Regions from separate parts of the Homo sapiens genome. Here region 2 is linked to region 1. The links are contacts of gene promoters, found by promoter capture Hi-C in human tissues and cell types (Jung and others, 2019). All regions are on one chromosome and are shown on one strand. The core of a region is centred on a gene start or on the middle of the fragment in contact, and the rest is flanking DNA. Distances in the headings are between cores, read along the strand shown.

Evidence for each region. The method cuts DNA at HindIII sites, captures the fragments that hold promoters and counts their contacts. A contact is called where the count stands out against the background at its distance.
Region 2: a contact is called between a fragment that was not itself captured here and the fragment with the promoter of ITM2B in region 1, in 2 of the 25 tissues and cell types used here (H1 embryonic stem cells and dorsolateral prefrontal cortex).

Annotation. Positions count from the first base shown.
Region 1 is chr13:48,231,451-48,235,367 of GRCh38, reverse strand. ITM2B (integral membrane protein 2B) reads right to left here and starts at 2,162. Exons shown (of 6, transcript NM_021999.5): 1 at 1,891-2,162. The coding sequence starts at 2,007. RefSeq lists an enhancer at 954-1,651 and silencers at 1,707-1,916, 1,927-2,286. The HindIII fragment of the contact is 16,899 bases long and covers 1-3,917 here.
Region 2 is chr13:49,079,750-49,083,485 of GRCh38, reverse strand. All of the region lies in intron 3 of FNDC3A (fibronectin type III domain containing 3A), which reads right to left. Among named protein-coding and RNA genes, the nearest start is that of FNDC3A, 110 kb to the right of the region's middle. RefSeq lists enhancers at 65-154, 365-424, 615-864. The HindIII fragment of the contact is 8,841 bases long and covers 1-3,736 here.

The sequences.
Region 1 (3,917 bases), core at 913-3,412:
TGGATATGGAGGATCTGAGAAAATAAAAAATGGAAAACAAAGCACGGAGCTACCAATGATTACTTATAGCTGCAATGACCACAAAATTTAAATATGGTGAACTCGTGAGCAATTTTGAGAATCTGGCAGAGTCACTATTTCAGAAATGACAAAAATTGTCAGAAGTCAGATTTAATGGTGCTCAGCAAATGTAATTCTGATGTTTGTCCAGAGTTTCAAATCTCCACTACAGCGGAACAGAGAAAAGCTGTCTGAAGTGACATCATCCAATGCTCGCTCACTCTCTCCTTTCTAAATGGGAGCAGTTATATTTGTTAATAGGATTTTTAAATGTATGTGTGTATATATATATATGTGATAGCATTAAGACTACATATATTTGAGACTGTTGTGACTGGATACTTGACTCTCAATCTATTTTAGGTACAACGAATGTTAGATAAACAAAGAGCTAACATAATAATTTGCTACTGCAATTTTCATCTGTGCATTCCAAACATTTTCTTTAAAGACCAAGATTGTTTGCAATGGCTTCAGGAAAACAATACCAATACGAAAACCAAAACCTTTAATCCTTTTAGGGAATCAGTTCACTGTTCCTATTTCAAGGCAAGGCAAGTCATTTAGAAATCAACCTCTGACGTGTCTGTTTTTATCAGAACATTTCCAGAAAGTAAGATTACCATTATATTCTGAAGATAGATTATATTCAGAATATAATAAATTATAATATGATGTCTAGATTACCATTATATTGTGAATTTTTTACAGTATATTAGTGGCCTGTTTTTCAGCAATAATTTTCATTCGTCCATATAAAAACTCCCATTATTCATACGTGGCACACCAATTTTTTTAAGTTAAAACTAAATTTACCCTACTGATAATAGGTCTTGAAAAATGCTAACAACAACAAAAAATAAGATAAGCAACATAACTTTACAGTTAATTTCTAATTTTTGCAGCCTAAAAAGGGTCTGGGTAAGAGGCTGTGGGCTTTTTTAACTTATGAGACAATTACACTCATATTTAAGTAAATATGATCGTAACCTACTAAAAGTCAACACAGTAACAGCCCCACTTCATGAATTTTCCTAGGATTAAAGGGAGATTTTGTAAAATAAAGGAGAATTTTATTAGGGACCCGGGGGCAAATTTCTCATGTTTAGTTTCACGCAGCAGGAGTCCTCACAAAGACGCTGATACAATTTAAATGCCAACAATTGGTTTTTCACTAACATCCACATAGTCATTACTGGCCTTTACTAGTAATGGTAAGAGACAGCCCAAACCTACTTCGGGCGGACTGTCCCTTCGTCCCCTCTCCAGGTGAAGTTCACCTGCCACTACCGAAGGGCCGTGGAAAAAGGAGGTAAAGAAACGCTTTTAAAATTAAGACGCTTACAGTTGCTGGACTTAGTCCAAGTGCTGTTCAAGCCTAGAAACGAAAGTGGGAAACAACAGAGGTTTAGGCTTGTAATGATGTCAGCCATTTTAGGTACATTATTTATACTGGGAAGGAAGTGCCAAACTCGGTTGTTGTTGTTGTGCCTGTCGCTGCCGGTCCCCAGATCGAACAAGCCAAGTCCTGGCTGCACGCACGCTCCCCGGACTGCACAAACGACCGGGAATTCGGCACAATTAGCCAATCGTTCCCTCTCCAGGCCTCCCAAGCCCCCGACCCCGCGTCAGGCACCGCTTCCAGCACACGCACTTCCTTACAAAGGAGCTGCGGACCCACAGGAAACGGGAGCGCCGGGCTCTCTCGGGGACTTGTCCCCGCGGCGCGAGCCCCGCGCCCGCCACCTCGGGGCGCACTGCCGCTGCAGTCCGCGCAGCCCTCCCCGGCCGGGCCCAGCACCCGCTTCCTCGACCTCCCCGGGCTCGGACCTTGCAGTCCACCGCGACGGCGTCGGGGGGGATGATGAGCGCCTCCTCGCCGCTCTTGGGCTCGTCCTTCTTGGCCTCCTTCTGGGCCAGAGCGGAGTTGAACGTCACCTTCACCATGGCGCGGCCTGGGGCGCCCTCGAAGGGCGGCGGCGGGCTCGGGGCGCGGGCTGCGGGCTCCCGGCTGCGATTGCAGCCTCTACGGCCGGGCTCCGGGAGCGGCTCCGGGCGGCTGAAGAGGTTCGGGAAGCTCCGCGGCGGCAGAGGCGGCTACTGCGGTAGGGATCTCGCAGCCTCCCAGCTCCCGCGCGAGGGCGGAGACTGCTCGCACATCCCCTGGGAGGCGGGGCGGGGGCGGGGGCGGGGCCAGCGGCCGGGGGTGGGGTGCTGCGCGGGACCCTGCCCTCGCCCCGCAGCTGGGCGCCGGATCCCGGCGCGCCTCGGAGAGGGATGGGTGTCCCTCTGGGCCGCCTGGAATTTCCAGTTCTGAATTCGCTCCCAACCAGGTTACCTCCAGGCCGAGTGCTGCAGGTTTGTAGCGAAATCGAGTGAACTTTCCTGAGTTCGCCGGGTACAAGGGACTAACCTTTGGCAGCACCAGACCGCCGCTTCCCTGTACCCTGTCCCCACCGCGAGCCTAAAGGCCATGGAATTTTTGTGCATCCACATCTTCATTTTCTCACTTATTAGGTAACCGACTCAGTGGAGCACAAACATGTTTAAAGCTCTCTGTCCTTGAGATCTGACTTTATCTTTCACGGACCTCACCCAAGGGCGTTTACCTGGCTCAGACCTGCCTGGTCTTCCTTCCCTCTCTCAGGAGGTCAGGGCCTGTTCTGCCTAGTCCCAGACCAATGTGGAGGAAGCTCTTGGCAGATTTGTATTTCAAACATCTCACACTCGTAAAACGAAATGTTCCACTCTTGTGCGTACTTGGAAAAAAACCACATGCACACTTGGCTGATTTGTGACTCAAAGTACTCGATGACGAGTCCCTTTATTTTTCTGCAAAATGAAAAAATAATTAAGGATAACGCAAAATTCTCATGTTTTGAAGACGTTTCATTTACAACTAATGCGAGGTAGAATACTGGCTCCCGTCGTTACTGCGTTCATTACTGTGTCAACAGACGGCCCCCTTGGACAAATGTGTTATCTTGTATCCTTCCACCCCATTCTGTCCTGGTTCATCCAGAGTTGTGGGTGTGCTCTAGAATGTTACAGCTGTGTCAGCTCTGCCTTGGGCCAACCCTGAAAAAAGTGGGTTCAGTCTGAGATCTTTGGGGATTTGGCCCTGCTCAAGGAGGGAGTTGGGTATTTCCATAGAATGTCAGATCATAAGTCCCAGGGAAACAGCCCAAGATCTCCAAATCCTTCTGTTCATGTATTTCAGAAGCATCCTGGGCTGAGATAGAAACCCAGGCCAGACTTTGAGTTTGCTTTGGGTATTCAGAAATTCCTGTCAAAATGAAATCTGCTCAACCAAGAGGAGGATGAGTTAGGTTCCAGTTCTGGTGAGTTTTAACAGTAGCTAACCATACTTGCAGCAACTTATTTAAACTCCTGGGTCGCCCTTGTGCAGGCATCGGCTCTGTGAGGTTGACTCTATGGACTGGACTTTCATAGTATCTAATGTTATCTAATTCCTCAAAGTCAACGACTGCTTCCAGCTCCCTAGTTTAATAGGTTCCCTGAGACATTACAGTTGAAGACTAAGTATTTCTGGAAGCAAGATCTGGAGGATTATAAATAATTATATGTACATCCTTCCTACTTCGTTCTGTGTTAAAATAAGATGGTAGAAAAATACTCAAGGCATTTTGCAGTAGATGATAGAGAAGAATCTGGCTGTCATTATACTCCGGGGGGAAAAAAGGAATTACAGAAGAAAATAAAACAAAATTCTTCGTGAACAACACTACTGAACAGACTAGGAAGCTGAGGCAAAGGATGAACAAATGAGGTTGACAAAACTAGAAATCCTCCCCGCCCCAGGATTTCTATTTTGAAAGACTCATGAATAAAAGACC
Region 2 (3,736 bases), core at 903-3,402, 850 kb before region 1:
CGTCTAACCAGCATACACCACCATCTGTTTTGAACTTGCATTTCTATTTTTGAAGTCCAAGATTTCATTTGTTTTCCCTTTTGCAAATGGGATTCAATAGATGACTCATATTTAGTTCTAGTTCCGCTAAAATAAGCAAGTTCTATTCATAAAGTTGTCTTCTCTTGCACTGCAGTGGACGCTGTCATTTGTTTTAGTGCATAGAATCTGAAGTCCCTTTGTGTGTTTGAGGAGTCTCCTTGGTGTGAGATAAAGACCATCACTCCTACAGGTGCTGATAATTTGGCAGGCAGTGGTGGGTGGCTACAAAATTCCTGTTGCAGAAGTGGTATCTGTGCTAGAAGCAAGTAATACTGAGTTCTTAGTGGAGGAGGGGAAGGGGTATAATCACAGCATTGATGATGACTTCCTAATTAGACCACCTCTGTGTGGATGCCCTTTTTACCCTAGTTGGGCTCTGACTCTTCACTCTAATACATCCCCAGATTGTGCACTATCTGACCATGCTGGGACTCCTACAACCCAGGTCAGGCTACCCCTCCACACAGATGGCCTCCTCACTCTTGTTTGAGCTCTGATTCCCCATGCTGGATCATTGCATTGCGTCAGTGACTGCCTCATCCTGCTCAAGTTCTTACATGCCACACTACATACCTTCTTGATGATATCCTCCTCAGCCTTATACTCTGACTCCCTATACCAGGCTGCCTTCTTGTGTGAATTCCCTCTTCAGTCTGCTTGGGCTCTAACTCCCTATACTTGGCTATTCTCTGATGTGATATGGTTCTCATTCAATTAGGGCTCTGACATCCTACTCTGGGGAACTGCAGCTCACCTCTCCCATTCCCACTAGTGCACTGCCTATATTGTTCTGCCTCACCTAAGAGCTTCAGGACTGAGCTATTAGGAAGGAAAAGGAATGAGGACAGGAGGAGTCTCAATATCATCTTAAACTCTTTTGTGTTTTATAGGCAAGATTAAGTTTCAAAAAAGGAACCCCAACTAATACACACTATACAGTACCTAGATTTTTAAAATCAAAACGTAGAACTTTATATTTACTCCTATTAAATTTTATCCTGTTGGGTTTTTTTGTTTTTGAGATGGAGTCTTACTCTGTCACCCAGGCTGGAGTGCAGTGGCAGGATCTCAGCTCACTGCAACCTCTGCTTCCCGGGTCCAAGTGATTCTCCTGCCTCTGCCTCCCGAATAGCTGGGATTACAGGTTTGCGCCACCACATCCAGCTAATTTTTGTATTTTTAATAGAGACAGGGTTTCATCATGTTGGTCCAACTGGTCTCGAACTCCTGACCACAGGTGATCCGCCCCACCTCGGCCTCCCAAAGTGCTGGGATTACAGGCGTGAGCCACCGTGCTGGGCCTATCCTACTGTTTTTGACCTATCATTTCAATATGTTCTGATCTTCTTGAGTTTGACATTTATTAACGTTAGCAACTTTCTGACACTTAAACATTTCATAAACATGTTTTTATTTTTGTTAAAAAAAAAAAAAAAGGTACTGATTTAACAGGCTCAAAAGAAAGCCCTAGAGAACAAAATCCTGAGTAACACAACGTGAGACAAAGTTGCAGACTGGCAACGGTCTGATGATCAAATTTTATTTCATCTTCCTATAAAGGTATATAAGAAAGTCTGACAAATAAGCTTGAGAAAATAAACAGTGCTTATTCATTTTTGTCCCTCACTGAATACTGAATAAGTGAATGGATGAAGAATATAAGGTCTTTGTTTTTGTAGAAGCCACTTTGCAGAAAAATTATAATGTAGATGTGGTTAATCCATGATCAATGTAATTAGAGACTATATATGATGTAGGTCTTGGGTTCTATGGTTCCACAGATATAAGTAATATATCCCAAAAGATACGGCCTAATAATAATCTTCTCTATGACAAAATTATGTTCTAAGTCCTACATGATGTGTATACACACGGACACACACTATTTACATAAACAAGTGTAAGACACAATATATACTGAATATAATCTGACTGATACAATAGTAAGTGGCAAAGTTTGAACTCAAACCCAAGTACCCTTCTGCTTAACTACTGCCCTATTAAAGTATTAAATAATCATCAATATTTTTGCTTGTCTGTCTAAAACATAATATTTGAAGGAGCCAGAGCATATAAAAATTATTCAAGCATAGCTCGTCTGTGTATTTTTTGCTTTTCATAATTTTCTCTCTTACATGTAGTGGCATGGAATCACACCAAAGTAGAAGTGCCATAACAATGCAAAACCCCTAGATAGTTAATAAATTCTTACTCGTTAGCCCCATTTATTCATTCTGAGGTATCACAGACGAAAAGAGAAAAAGCCATACCTGCCTCTCATAAGGAGGGTTTTTAGCTACAACTGTTGGCTATAACACATCTACTTGTTTGACACATATAAATGCTCAAGAAACATCTGTTGTTTTCTCTTCTTCACTCACCTTAAACGTTTATTGAGAGTCTCTATGTGCTGGGTGCCATACAAAGCATCAGGGCTATAAACATATGTAAAAATATCTGCCTTCAATTATTTCTGTATGTGTATCTACAGCTAAAAGAGGAGAGAAACTAAAGCAAGGGCTTCACAGAACAGATGATATCTAGAGGAACCAATTTGTCATCAGGAGAGCCAGCTCTACACAGGATTCTTAAGTGTTTACTACATATTCTCTATGAAATATGCTTCTATGACCTTCCCAGTAACCCAAATTTAGAAACCTTGCCTAATTCCCTATTTTTCATAACTCTTCACAACATAAAACTAAGAAGGTAGTCTTTAGCACATGCTACAAAGATCTATTAATATAAAACCTAAAATCTCCCCATTCAATAAATTTTTACATTTCTACATACCAGTTACTAGGCAAAATACTTAATTTTCACAGTATCTCTCAATATACAAGACAATCTGTTGACATGCTATCAAAGCACTTCACTATGAAAACGTAAGAACAAGTTAGATTGTTTCAAAATACCTCTCAACAGAAAAAACCTGAGACAGACTCAAACTAGCACTCATTTCAAAAGTAATCAAGAATTTAAGTTAAAACCAGTGAATAATGGTTAAAGAAGGGGGAAAAAATGAGGTATGGGTTCATATCAGGAAATATAAACAGATCTAACCAATGACCAAAATGGAAAACTAGCAAAACAGAAGACTACACTTTTAGATATTTAAGAGTGGTGCCTTATCCAAAAGGACATGAAATAAGGTAAAGAACTAAGGGAAGACAGACATCAAATTCTGAAGAGGACTCAGAAAAAATGGTATGGGACAATAGAAAATGATCAAATCAAAAGAACAATGTAGATATTTTTAATTCTTTTCATTAAAAATATGAAAACTGTATTTTTTGAAACAAATATTGGGCCAGGTACAATTGTCCATGCCTGTAATCACAGTGCTTTGGGAGGCTGAGATGGGACGATTGCTTGAGCCCAGGAGTTTGAGAGCATCCTGGGCAACACAGTGAGAACTCAACTCTATAAAAGCATGGTGGCATGCACCTGCAGTCCTAACTGCTCAGGAGGCTAAGGCAGGAGGATCACCTGAGCCCAGGAGTTTGAGGCTGCAATGAGCTATGACTGTGCTACTACACTCCAGCCTGGGTGACAAAGAGACCCTGTCTCTTAAAATAGAAGACAAATAAATGTGGAAAAGTCCTTGTTTCTGGCCCACAGTGATTCTTCCCCAGTCCCCACCTTTTTTTTCCTT